4 separate regions of the Homo sapiens genome follow, and regions 1, 2 and 3 are each linked to region 4. The links are contacts of gene promoters, found by promoter capture Hi-C in blood cells and fetal thymus (Javierre and others, 2016). All regions are on one chromosome and are shown on one strand. Each heading gives the region's core, a stretch centred on a gene start or on the middle of the fragment in contact. The rest is flanking DNA. Distances are from core to core; before and after follow the strand shown.

What was found. The method cuts DNA at HindIII sites, captures the fragments that hold promoters and counts their contacts. A CHiCAGO score of 5 or more calls a contact.
Region 1: a fragment that was not itself captured here is called in contact with the fragment with the promoter of CCDC59 in region 4 in 1 of 17 cell types (non-activated CD4 T cells); the score reaches 8.2 in non-activated CD4 T cells.
Region 2: the fragment with the promoter of TMEM263-DT here is called in contact with the fragment with the promoter of CCDC59 in region 4 in 1 of 17 cell types (non-activated CD4 T cells); the score reaches 7.0 in non-activated CD4 T cells.
Region 3: a contact is called between a fragment that was not itself captured here and the fragment with the promoter of CCDC59 in region 4, in 1 of 17 cell types (naive B cells). The highest score is 5.5, in naive B cells.

What each region holds. Positions count from the first base shown.
Region 1 is chr12:22,546,139-22,549,548 of GRCh38, reverse strand. No RefSeq gene overlaps it. Among named protein-coding and RNA genes, the nearest start is that of C2CD5, 3.3 kb to the right of the region's middle. The HindIII fragment of the contact is 951 bases long and covers 1,218-2,168 here.
Region 2 is chr12:106,953,652-106,957,000 of GRCh38, reverse strand. TMEM263-DT (TMEM263 divergent transcript) reads left to right here and starts at 1,506. Exons shown (of 1, transcript NR_185933.1): 1 at 1,506-3,349. It overlaps TMEM263 (transmembrane protein 263), which reads right to left and starts at 1,094. Exons shown (of 4, transcript NM_152261.4): 1 at 936-1,094. RefSeq lists enhancers at 147-206, 1,136-1,430 and a silencer at 707-1,466. The HindIII fragment of the contact is 6,686 bases long and covers 1-3,349 here.
Region 3 is chr12:43,800,255-43,803,578 of GRCh38, reverse strand. TWF1 (twinfilin actin binding protein 1) reads left to right here. Exons shown (of 9, transcript NM_002822.5): 3 at 1,115-1,293; 4 at 3,049-3,144. It also overlaps a transcript of TMEM117 not described here. Among named protein-coding and RNA genes, the nearest start is that of TWF1, 4.4 kb to the left of the region's middle. The HindIII fragment of the contact is 5,233 bases long and covers 1-3,324 here.
Region 4 is chr12:82,356,714-82,360,216 of GRCh38, reverse strand. It overlaps CCDC59 (coiled-coil domain containing 59), which reads left to right and starts at 1,830. Exons shown (of 4, transcript NM_014167.5): 1 at 1,830-1,994; 2 at 2,948-3,257. The coding sequence starts at 1,841. It overlaps METTL25 (methyltransferase like 25), which reads right to left and starts at 1,688. Exons shown (of 12, transcript NM_032230.3): 1 at 1,393-1,688. The coding sequence starts at 1,651. RefSeq lists enhancers at 900-1,460, 1,391-1,950, 1,461-2,021. The HindIII fragment of the contact is 1,548 bases long and covers 518-2,065 here.

The sequences.
Region 1 (3,410 bases), core at 444-2,943, about 60 Mb after region 4:
CCCCCATCTCTACTAAAAATACAAAAATAAGCTGGGTGTGGTGGCAGGTGCCTGTAATCCCAGCTACTCGAGAGGCTGAGTCAGGACAATCACTTGAACCTGGGAGGCGGAGGCGGCAGTGAGCAGAGATCACACCATTGCACTCCAGCCTGGGCAACAAGAGCAAAACTCCCAAAAAAAGCAATGTGTTCCACTGCAATAATCTTCCAATTTAGAGAATATTTTACTTGATGCAGTCCTTATGCCCATGGTACATTAAGTATGGTATGGTACCTTATGCCCATGGTACATTAAGATACAAGGGAACTAATAAGATGATGAGTTTACCTAGATGCCTACTTATCTCATTTTTACTCCTTAATCAAAGCAAAAGTGAGCCACATGGTGGCTCACACCTGCAATCCTAGCACTTTGGGAGGATGAGGCAGGCAGATCACTTGAGCCCAAGAGTTCGAGATCAGCCTGGGCAACATGGGGAGACCTCATCTCTACTAAAATATAAAAATTAGCCAGATGTGGTGGTGTGCGCCTGCAGTCCCAGCTATTCAGGAGGCTAAGGTTGGAGGATCACCTGAGCCTGGGAGGTTGAGGCTGTGGTGAACTGTGATCTTGCCACCGCACTGTAGCCTGGGTAACAGAGTGGGACCCTGGCCCAAAGGAAAAAAAAAAATCAAAGCAAAAGTAACTGAACTGAGCCCAAGTTGTCATTTGTATAATTATACTTGTAATCCCAGCCCACTTTCAAACTTAAATCAGTGAGTTTCTGGCTTGAGCAATTGACTATGTAGTTGGCATTGCTGTTTAGTAGAAGACTACCAGGTCTTTTGTTGTTGTTGTTGTCATTCTCGTTGTTGTAGTTATGGGAAAGGTAAAGAAAATCAGGTCAGTTTTGGACATCTTGACTTTTGAGGTCACTTTTGGACATCTTGACTTTTGAGGTCACTTTGATACTCCAAATGGAAATAGTAACTTGGCAGTTGCATATATGGGTCAAGATCCCAGAAGCGAGTTACAGACTAAAGATAACGATTTGAGAGTCCCTGACTAAACAGATGGAAATTAAAATTGTGAGCTTGGATGAGATCACCTAGGGAGACAGTACAGTTGGAAGAGAATAGAGACAAAAACTGAACCTGAGAAAAACACATATTTAATAGTTAAGGACAATGAGTAGGCTGAGAAGACAGATGTATAAACCAGAATAGGTAAGAGAAGCTTGGTTTCTGAATACCAAGAGGAAGATTATTTTAAGGACAGCGTGGTCAACAGCATCAAATGCTACTGAGAGTCACGTAAATAAAAAACTGAAGCCAGGCATGGTGGCACGTGCCTGTAGTCTCAGCAACTTGGGAGCCTGAGGCAGAAGGACTGCATGAACCCAAGGGTTTGAGACCAGTCTGGGCAACACAGCAAGACCCCATCTCAAAAATAAAAACTTAAAACTAAAAAAAGTGTTCATTGCATTTAGCAACCAGAGGTTATTGATGGCATTAGTGAAAGCTGTTTTTGTAGAGTGGTGGTGGCTAAACCCAGATATTAATAGTTTTTGGAGCGCTTAGGAAGTGAGGAGAGGGCACCAAGTACTGACAACCCTTGAGTAATTTAACCTGAAAGAATGGGAAAGATTAACAGGAACATTTTAGGAAGCCAGGAAAGAAGAGCAATCTAAGTAGTAATAGCAAGTGTTAACTGTTAATTTAATTCCACAATAATTTGTTGATCACATGAAGGGCACAGGACAAAGAACTGAGAATTGAGAGATGAGTGAGAAGCAATCCATTCCCTCAGAGTGCTCATGGTTTAGTGGGGGTTGGGGGGGAGAGAGATGGATAAATAATTATTGCATGGAAAGTATAATAACAAATGTATTAGATTTAGTAGTAGCATAGGTGGGAGTGAAGAGCATATTTATTAGGAAGGAGATTAGAGAAGATGTAGAAGTGACTTTTGTAAAAGGCAAAAGATTTATACACTCTAAAGAGAAACCAGAGTATTGACTTTTGAACTGAGTTATGAATTCATAGCTATTTGGTAGGATGACTATGAGAGAGATACTCCAGGAAGAAGGAAAAGTATAGTTTATTAGAAAACTACATGTAATCTTCAAAGACGTGAGTTCTTGGAATCACATTGTCTAGATTTAAAACCTGCCTCTATCATTAGAAGCTTTGTGACCTTGGGTAATCACCAGAGCTTTGAAAAGCCATAATTTTCTCATTTATAAAATGAAGGCTGATAATTCCTACCTCAGGATTTTAGGGAGCCTTAACAGCTGTGAAACGCTGAATTCAGTAGCTGGTGTGCGGCAAACCATCAATACACGTTAATTCTTGTTATTGATAATTTAAAATGCAAAAAGAGTGTCAGGGTATGAAGCTAAACAAGGTAATCAGGAGTCACATCATGGTAGATTTGTCAGAAAGTTAGCACTGTTCCCAGCATTAATGAAAACAAACGAGAACAATTATTAGGAAACAGTTCAACTGAAGTCAGGCTTAAATCTACTAAAAATAGTTTTCAGGAAGCATCTTAATTATAATCTCTTGTTGATGAAGCCTAAGGCAACAAGTACGTACAAGTACCTCAAAGTCTACTAATTAGGAGGCTGAGATTGCTAACCTCTAATTGTGCAATTTGCAACTTTTTACATTTTGGAACACAATGCATTATTTTCCATTAATATTGGTGCTAAACTTCAATTTTCTAATATTTTTTCTTTATACATTTCATATTTTAAAAAATGAGTTGGTAATACGGTAATACTTCGATTTCACCACAAAAACGACTTCAACTCTACCACCCAAAACAACAAAAAACACTGATCATGCCGGGCAAGATGGCTCATGCCTGTAATCCCACCACTTTGTGAGGTCAAGGCAGGAGGATGGCTTAAACCAGGATTGAGACCAGCCTGGGCAATACAGGGAGACTCCATCTCTTCAAAAAATTTAAAAAACTAGCGGTGCATGGTGGTATGTGCTTGTAGTCCCAGGAACTTGGGGGGCTGAGGTGGGAGGATCGCTTGGCCCAGAAGATTGAGGCTGTAGTGAGCTATGATCATGTCACTGCACTCCAGTGTGGGACACAGAGTGAGTCCCTGTCTCTAAATAAATAAATAAATAAAAAACGTTGATCACATAGTGTAGCCAACCTTCAGAATTCTGGCAAGGGTATTTTAAGGGCAGAGTCAGACTCCAGAAAAAGCTGCAGGTGGACCTAAGGAAATTCGCATGGGATCTATGACCCCTATTCCTTTGACATAGTTTGAATTGATAAAAGTTTCTCTAGTCCAAAAAGCAAGCGATTTTTTTAGATTTTTATTTTGAGGAAGTCGTTTTCTCTGTAGGAGTTCAATTTCTCACTTATGTGAACAATATTCCTGCCATAGAAGGAATTTTTGTCATGAAAAG
Region 2 (3,349 bases), core at 257-2,756, about 25 Mb before region 4:
AATCAAATTAAGAACCCTTCCCTTTTCTCTAGGTGTTTCTAAACCCTTCCGGGTGGCCCCTTCTCTCCCTACTGATCCCTTTAGGCACTAGCAAATCTTTTTTTTTTCTTTAGCAGTGAGTGACGTGGCAGGAGGCAGAAAATGACCCTGGAGGCGCCGTGGCTAGCACTGAGCTTGGCACCTCCTCCCTCCGCTCCACGTTGTACACCCAGCACTCCCCCCACTCCCGAAGGGCTCCAGAATTTCTATGTAAGAAGGGTTTAGGACAGGCGATCTGATTGGAAGTGGGAGCTGGGGGGTCGGTCTTGAAGCTGCGTGTGCAGAGCAGGCAGTTTTTATTTAGACTGGGAGGCAGTGACGGCACGGATGGGTGCTCCAGCCCTCCCTGTCACCCCTGGGCGCGGCCAGCACCCTCTCCATTCCCACTTTTACTTTAGGTTAGGCGTGGAGATACAGCCTTCCTACCCAGGAAGAGCTATGGGGGTGTCCACTGGGAAAAAGTCTTGTGTGCCTGAACCCAAAAGGGAGGTTTAGCAACAGGTCAGGAGTTGGCAGGGCGAGGAAGCCCGGTACCCAAGCCCCTCCGCTGCATCCCTCTCCCAGGCTGCTGATGCCCCTCACCTTCCTCCTCCGCCCCCAACCCCGAACCCCCAGATGCTAAGAAGTCAGGCGGAGGCTTTCCAGGGGTGCGCAAGCTCCAATCGCGGCGGGGCAGTCAGCGACGTATAAGGAGGAGTAGCCCCAGAAGCGAACCTCCATCCGCCCCCAACTTCGTCCCGCCCCTCCCCCTTTCCCGCTGGGGCCTCGCCAAGGCCCCGCTGGGCAGCCAGGCCGGGCACTGGGAGGTGAGGGGCAGGGGCGCCGACGGCAGAGGGCGACGGAGGAGGGCAGGAAGCCGGGACTGCGCCCCTGCCCTCGCATCCCGACTCACTCACCGCCGGGGTCGCGGCCAGCGCTAGGGCTGGGGCCGGGCGGAGTGAGCGGGCCGGCGCAGAGGAGAGCTGAGGCGGCCTGGGCGGCAGCGGCGGCCGGCACAACCCCGGGCAGTCGCGGCTCCAGAGGCGTCCTCTCAGGATGTGGAGCTGGAAGACTGTGGCGGCGGTGGTGGAGGCGGAGGCCTCTGGCTGCGGACGTGGCGCCCGACGCGACCCGCCCCCTCCGCCGCCTCCTCAGCTCCCGCCTCCTCCCGCGGCTCCAGTTCCGACGCGCACGCGCGCTCGTGCAGCCCGGGCCCCTCCCGCGCCCACCGGGCACACGCCCACCCGTTCTCGCAGGGTCCGGCCCTCCCAGCAGTCCCCAGCCGGCTGTGTCCCAATTGCGCACGCGCGACGCTCCGAGGCCCGCTCCCGCCCCTTCGCCCCCTGGACGCCTCCGTGGGAACCCCCGGCCGGCCTGCGCGCCCCTCCTCCGGGGGTCTCCCCGCCTTCTTCCCGCCACCATCCAATCAAATCGGGCGAGGGGCGCGAAGCCCGGGAGACGCGTAGGCCGCGGCCCCCAGGCCCGGTGTTTTGACGTCGGCGGTGCCCGCGTTCCGCGCCGAGTAACGGTCTTCGGAATTCAGAGCCTTCGCCTTAGGGAAGGTGGGACGGTCGCCAGTTTCTCCAGCACTTTCTTCGTCCAGGGACGTCAACCTCCCTTGCATGCTGTCCTCAGGGACTGACAGCGGGGCCTGCTCAGAAGTTCTCGTCGGGACTCTCTACAGGCCTTTGTGATTAAGTGCTAGGGGTGAGGAGAGACGTGGCTTATTTATGTGTTTTTCAGTTTGTTATGATTTTTTTTTTTTTAATTTTACTTCTCCCTGCCCTAGAATTGAGCTCCTTGAGAGTAAAAACCCGCCTGGGTCGCCATCACCCTAGGCTTGGTGCAGGGCCTGCCAGGCGCTCGAATTTGTTGAAGAGGTGGGTGTTCAGTATCGAAAGAGCCGCGGATTGTACATTAGAAAGCCTGGCTTTGCGCCGCGTCCTTGCCACTTGCTGACCAGGCCCCTCCACGTGGTCCCCGCCGGGGCAGCAGCTCTCCTCACCCGTCCAAAGGCACGGGGAGGCGCGTGGCGGCCCCGCCAGAGCTGAGCCCCCTGGGATGTGAGGCCGTCTCGCTCTGAGCTTCAGAGCAGGGTTGCAGGAGACACCTCAGAAGGTCGTTTTGAGGACGGGAGGAGATGAACTGCTCAAAGCCTGCTTAACTAGATAAATGGTATCGATTAACTTTTCTTTGACTCCCTTTCCACACCTATAAAATGAAGATGACGGGAAACTTGTCATACTTTTTTTGTGGTGGGTGGGAAAGGTCTTTATGAACTGTGAAGTCCTATGCAAACGTGAGATGTTTCCTTTCGCAATCTGATTAGCGAAGCAAAAACACGCGAGTCAAAAACATACACAGAAAGCAAAAAAAAAAAATTCACAAAATGGTTTATCAACTGCAGAATATTCAGGATGGTGGAACTGAATGGTAACTACTGACAACATAGCTCAGAAAGGACGTGCTAAAACATGCTGGATGAAGCTAACTTTGATCCAGGTCTTAAATGGAATGGACTATAGTTTATAGCTTCAACCTAATCATTAACTTATGAAATCAGAGAATTAAGGCCACTTAAGCCACTGTGCTCAGACTGTCAAGATATTTAGTTTCTCAAAGCAGAAAGAGGAAATTAAATACTCTTGTCAATTCAACATATGGGTTGGATGATTAGCAGGATCCGTGGATTGTTGTTTATCCAGTATGTGAAGAAACGGATATCCTCTGTTTTCTCGTTATTACACAAACTTCTATCCTTAATATGTGACCTTTCAAGGTTGAACTCTAGGTAAAATTATGAAGTGCACAATTACGTCTTGTTTCTTCTTCCCTTTGCACGTCGTTTTACAAGAGAATCTAATTATTATTAAAGTACAAATGACTGACAAGATTGTAGCCACTCCTGGGAGATTTTGCATTTTTACGGTTATTAAAAGCCATAACTCAAAGCAGCAGTTGAATCTGTTTCATAAACTAACTAAGATTTAAAAGAGCTCCTTTGGGAGGTCATGAGTTCATCAGAAACTTCTGGTGTAGGAGTTCAGCCTATAAAACAAACAAATACATGACTTGTAGTATTTCTTCGTTTTATAGTCTGAACTCCTCTAAGTTCTTGATTCCCATTCTGTGACCTCCCTTTCTTAGATTGTTAAAATAAAATACAGATGACTCACGCCTTTAATCCCAGCACCTCGGGAGGCTGAGTCGGGAAGATCACTTGAGCCTAGGAGTTTAAGACCAGCAAGGGCAACATGGGGAGATCCCATCTCTTAAAAAAATAATAATAATAATTGAGCATGGTGGCACCCTCCTGTAGTCCCAGCTATTT
Region 3 (3,324 bases), core at 2-2,501, about 39 Mb after region 4:
GGAAGGAAAATGGCACTACTTCCTAAGTTATTATTTTCTGGTTTTACTTTTTTGTTTTGTGAAAATTTTTAAATAAGGAAAATTCCAAAGACTAAAATTGTATCATAAATACCTATATCTCCCCTTTATTAATAACTGCTAACATTTTATCTTATTTACTTCAAGCATTTTAGAAAATTCAGTGTTTTTCTGGTATAAGAGCATCCCCTTTAAACAATTTTGCTTCTGACCTCCTTACCCTGGGGCAACTACAATTGGGAGTTCTGATACTTGTGCAGTCTGTTTTTACATGTATCCCTAAATAGCATATAGTGCTCTTTGAGTTTACATAAACTGCATGATACCATCTTACTCTGTATCTTTCCTTTTTCTGAAAATGTTCCATTTGCAATTAGTTTTGATAGCTCAATAATTCATTTTAAATCTGAACAGAATGTTATATGACTATGCCACACATTATTTTTGCATTGTCTTATTGATGAACATTGAGGCTATAACTTCACTGTTACTGTATAGTGCTGCAGTGAACACCTTTGTATTTATGTATAAGAGATTCTGTATGCATAGTAGATTAACAGTTTTACTTGATTCTGCTGAATACCATTTCAAAGTGGCTATACCAGTGTATACATCTAGGCAAATGTTTAAATCTGTAGCATTATGGCCAAATAAAAAGGAGTTAAACATGGTTTTATTTAATATTTCTTACTGTACAATTCATTGTTAATGTCAGAAATTATACTTTTGAATGGTAGTTTAAATATATTTTGTTGATAACTTAAGCTCAGACATTTTGGAAAATAGAAATGTAATGACTGTTATAGGTCATTACATTATTTGACCATTCAGTTCAACTGTTATGATCATTTTTATATGTTTCTTTCTTAGGCTGTGTATATTTTAAACATTTTAACCATGTTCATAAAAAGTTAACAGTTTTTATAATACTCTATGTCATAATTACTTTCTATGTTACCACATTTTTCTTTTCAACTTTTTGATGTGAATAATAGTAACTGGGAAATGACTATATATTTATTTTTCTAGTCTTCATCACACTACCACTTGATATCTCAAACCATTTACCTATCTTTCTAAAAATAATTTTTCATAGAGCAACTTGTGATTGGATCATATAGTCAGCCTTCAGATTCCTGGGATAAGGATTATGATTCCTTTGTTTTACCCCTGTTGGAGGACAAACAACCATGCTATATATTATTCAGGTTAGATTCTCAGAATGCCCAGGGATATGAATGGATATTCATTGCATGGTCTCCAGATCATTCTCATGTAAGTAACTTTTTTATAGTTTGTTTAACATTAAATGCTAGAAAAATGTTTTTGAAATTTCTAGGTCAAATAAAGGTTAAAAAACAATAATTATTTCCCATAGAAGGGAATGATCATGAGGAAAATCCTTGGATTGATAACGGAGAATCAGGAATAATGTGCTTAGATTCGGGAGTTTTGCCCTTGAAATCAAAATAATTATTACTGATTTAAGATTTAAAAATTTGTGGCAATGGCAATTTTTTCTTTCTTTTTTAAGGCAGAATCTCACTCTGTCACCCAGACCAGCTTGCTGTGGTGCAGTTTCGGCTCACTGCAACCTCTGCCTCCCAGGCTCAAGTGATTTTCCCACCTCAGCCTCTTGAGTAGCTGGGATTACAGGCATGTGCCACCACGCCCAGCTAATTTTTATATTTTTAGTAGAGACGGGGTTTCACTGTGTTGCCCAGGCTGGTCTCAAACTCGTGGCCTTAAGTGATCCACCCACCTCGGCCTCCCAAAGTGCTGGGATTACAGGTATGAGCCACTGTGTCCAACCTAATTTGTGGTAATTTTAAAATGACTCCATGGGCCTCTGAAAAATGAAGGAAACTGCCTGGCCCTGAGAGTAATAATTGTAATAAATCTGAGAACTAATTGAACATAATATTAAATTTTGTTAGTATTATCATACATTTATTAATCGCTACCATTCAAGTGATGGGCCTGCATACAAACAAGTATTTTAGGAAAGCTGGTAGTAGATTGACTGTATAGAACAATAGACAGAATTAATATATGAATATGGCCCAATATTTAAAAAATTAATTTGAATTTTTCTTATTAAAAAATAATTATTTTTAAAGTTATCTAGATATTTTCTCAAAAGATCATCCCATTCCTCTTTAATTCCCCATGTTCTATCTGAAAGAAATACTGGGTTTGACCATGCAGGATTATGAAATTATTTGTTAATTGGTAGTTATCTTTAGTAGCTTTCCATAGATACTAGTTGACTCTTGAATTTTTTTTTCCATCTTTGTGTCCCTCCTAGAATGGTATGTGCCATCGGTAAGCCGTGAATTTTGATTCTTAACAACTTAATTCGTAATCTTTGATACAGCTTTGAGAAGAATGTCACTATCAAAGTTACTTCATTTCAGTTTTCCTCATATTTTAATTTTTTATTCTTGAACTTATGAGTTTGAAAAATGAAGAATTTAAACAATTTATATTTTTTTCAGCTTTAAAATGTGGCCAGGCACGGTGGCTCATGCCTGTAATCCCTAAACTTTGGGAAGCCGAGGCGAGTGGATCACCAGAGGTCAGGAGTTTGAGACCAGCTTGACCAACATGGTGAAAGCCCGTCTGTACTAAAAATAGAAAAAATTAGCCAAGTGTGGTGGCGCACACCTATAATCCCAGCTACTCGGGAGGCTGAGGCAGGAGAACCACTTGAACCTGGGAGGCAGAGGTTGCAGTGAGCTGAGATCATGCCATTCCACTCCAGCCTGGGCAACAAGAGCAAATCTGCGTCTCAAAAAACAAAAAAAGTGACATTGTAAATTGAAGTCCATCTTACTAACCATTGATAGTTTAGATGCCCATGTTAATGACGGTTATTTGTACACACGTATTTTAGCATATTATAGTGGGTGGACTTCAGCTCAGTTTTGTTTTTAATGTGATTCAGGATATTAATATATTCAGAATGTGCTTGCTTTTGTAATGTTATGTTTTCATCTATAAACTAAGTAAACTTTCACAACTGAATAGGTTCGTCAAAAAATGTTGTATGCAGCAACAAGAGCAACTCTGAAGAAGGAATTTGGAGGTGGCCACATTAAAGATGAAGTATTTGGAACAGTAAAGGTATTATGTTTGTATGTGGATTCTATATGTTGCAATTAAAATGATTAAAGAGGAACTCCTAGGTAATGGGTAATTGATACGAATTCAGATGGATAATCTGAAAACATGAGAATAAGAGAAATACTGTATTTCATATAATATTAAAGTTAGCTGTAATGAATATGTAACTTTGAGTTTATT
Region 4 (3,503 bases), core at 581-3,080:
GTCTGGAGACCAGGCTAAACACGTATTAAAGTCTTACACTCTAAACTTGAGAGTAGTTTCATTTTATTTATTTAAAACTAACATGAGTAACTCATTAATTCCTCCATTCAACAAATATTCATCCAGTATCTAATGTATGCCAAGTATTTTACCAAGTGCTGGGAATACATCAGTTGACAAGTCAGACAAAGACTCTGCTCTTTTGGAGTTTAAGTAAAATTGTCATATCATAAGTGCCATATATTTATTATGAGAGCAAACTGAAGAAGTGCCTAACTTTTCAATAACAATTACTTAAAAAAACAACAACAGTATTTACCAAGTGCTATTATAAGAGGTCCCTCTAGTGATGCTTTGCATTCAGAGAATGCTCAATGAATAAAGTTCACTAGTAAGGGTAACTTTGGGAAGTCTAGAAGGAAAGTAAAAATCCCAGAAGCCTGTTGGTGTCCATCATTCTACTTCCAAAATATGCTTGCCTGAGAAGAATCTACATTTCTTGAGGGTAGGAAAAGCTTGAGCCTACAAAAATTCAAGACACATATTAGGTACTTTAAAATAGTTTTTAAATGAAATAGTGACTATCCGAATACCATCCTAGTCCAAGATACAATCATCTGTTGTACTACTGAGGTAGTCTCCTAACTGGCCTCTCAGCTTCAGCTTTTGCCCTAGTCTATTCTTCAAATAATTCACAGTTATCTTTTCAAATGTGAATTAGGTCACTATGTTGCCTAAATAATCCCAAGGGTTTCCGTCACACTTAAAATCCAAAATCCTTCCAAGGCCTAGAAAGGCCTGTGCCATCTGGCCTCTGCTTGCCTCCCGTCCTGCACCTGCAGCCCCTCACCTGGCTAGAGCCAAGCCTAGCCTGCGGTTCCCACCGCCTGCAACCCCTCCCTGTGGCTCTGCAGCTAGTGCCTTCTCATGTTCCTGACCTCCTAAATTGAGGCAGCCTCCTTACACAATCCCTACCACATTACACTGTTTTTATTTTCTACTTCATTACCACCACTTGAAATTATCTTTATTAACTGTTGAGTAATCTTCCACCACATGCTGGCATTTATAAAACCTGTGAGAGCACTGCTCCCCTAGTTTCCCTAGCGTCAATTATTATGGAATTACTAGATGAAGGAACTCCCCTGCCCTGTTTCCTGCTTTCTTTAAATTGTGGACATACACAAGCACCCAAAGAAAGAGTGATCCTGATTCCAAAGAACATCCCCACCCCACCCCTCAACTAATCCGACCCCTCCTCGGTTTCCCAGCGGGCCGCCCCGCCTCCGCCGCCACGCACCTGGTTCTGCTGGCTTCCACCAGGGGGCTCGCTTCGTCTGCCGGGACCTTCTCCTCCGCCTCCCTTCCCGCCCCGCCTACCCCACCACCCACCTGCTTCCCACTCTGCTTCCACTAGGGGGCGCGTCTCTGAGGGCAGGGCCTCCGTCTCCGACGCTGACTTCCTCAGCGCAGCCAGCACTGTCTCCGGTGGCAAGTCGACCAGCTCCTCCCACACGGATTCTGTGTAGAAATCCACGGTATGTGCATTGGAAATGGACAGGGCATCCCTCAGGAACTGCAGCAGTCCCTGCAACTTGGCACGCAGCGTGGGCAGGTCCGGGGTCACCGGGAGAGGGCAAGAAGCCGCCATGACGCTCACCCTCCGAGGCTGTAGGTGGCGCAAACATGGCCGTGAGGCGCCAGCTCGGCCCAAATTAGCACAGGCAGGCTCAGTAGAGCTCCGAGCCGGATTCCTTCTGAGCGATTGATTGCTTCGGCTTGGTGACGTATTTTGTGGGCGTCCGTCGTGGTCTTCTGATGACGCAGTTAGTCGGCTGCAATGGCGCCGGTGAGGCGGTCCGCGAAGTGGCGGCCTGGTGGTATTGAGGCGCGTGGTGAAGGGGTTTCCACTGTCGGGTACAGGAATAAGAATGTGAGACAGAAGACATGGCGGCCTAACCACCCGCAAGCCTTCGTGGGGAGCGTTCGCGAGGGTATGTAAGAAGGCAACCATTTGCAAATCCTCAGGCTTGCTAAGTTTTAGGATATAAGATTCGCTGAAGCTTGGAAGAAGGATTTAGGAACCAGACCCGGTCCTACTTGGGGCAAGGGAATTCATTCCTGAGCCCGCTAAAGCTGTGAGCTTCGCAGAGCTCTAGATAGGAAGACGGAGCAGTGTTGCTATTATTTAAACGTCTTTTCTGACGTAACCCTGTATTTCATCAGAACTTTTTTCCTATATTTTTCCTGAGAAACTGAGCAGAGAGAGTCTATGACCCTGTGAACTCTTGCGCATGTGGTAAGGTAAAGGATAGAGAGGAGGACAGGGCCAGAAACACTGCTCCGAATTCTTCCTTATTACAAATACCCGAGGCCCTCCAGCCTTCGCTTTAATTTGTGTTTGTCATTTTGTATTGCTGTCTGTAAGGTCTCTTAGATCCCACTTGGAATATATAAATGTTAAATTCAGTCTTCCGATAATTGCTAGCTTTTCAGACAACCATACACTGTCTTTTTCTTTCGTGTTGAAACATTTTCGAAAACATGTAGTTTGTCCAAGATACTAGATGTGGCATTTTCTTTCCTATTTTTTAAGCATTTATTGAAGGCTCAGATTAAGTGTTTTAGATGAACTAAGGAATTTGTTTTGATTTGTGAATACAGCTGTAAACTCAAGTTGTGCAACAGTCTGAACTGGTCAGTTTTTCTTTGAGATTCTTACTTGGATTTCCGCATGACTGTTAGCCTGGTCTTTTTGCAAAGGGCCAACTTACTATGCAATCCATCAGCTTAAATTTGTTGCTTGAAATAATTTTTTAAAGCAAAATATAATACTAGAATCTGAATGTGATGACGTAAAAAAAGTTTTCATTTGTAATTAACAGCTCCATTCTTCGTTCAACTTCTTTTCTCTGAAAGTAATTTTGGATGATATTCCTCAATGTAGGACAAGGCTTTGCTTTTCGAAGAAAACTGAAAATACAGCAAAGTTACAAGAAATTGCTACGGAAGGAAAAGAAGGCTCAAACGTCACTGGAATCTCAATTCACAGATCGATACCCAGATAATCTGAAACATCTCTATTTAGCTGAAGAGGAAAGACATAGGAAGCAAGCAAGAAAAGTCGACCATCCTTTGTCAGAACAAGTTCACCAGCCGTTGCTTGAAGAACAGTGTAGCATTGACGAGCCTTTATTTGAAGATCAGTGTAGCTTTGACCAGCCTCAGCCAGAAGAACAATGTATTAAAACAGTAAAGTATGTATTTTCTTCATTTGAAATCCTTTAAGTGTTGTTTTATTATTTAAAAGTACTATAGGATAATTTATATAGGAATTGTATTTTTTCTTATTTAACACATTTTAGAAGTCACGGTTTAATTAGGGAAACATTTTCATGGAGGCTCTATTTTTAGCTTCAATAACTGAATTAGGCTGGTTTAGCCTAATTGACAAAGTAACGTAATGGGAATTAAGAGCTCTGGAATTTGGGTTTCTTCCTCTC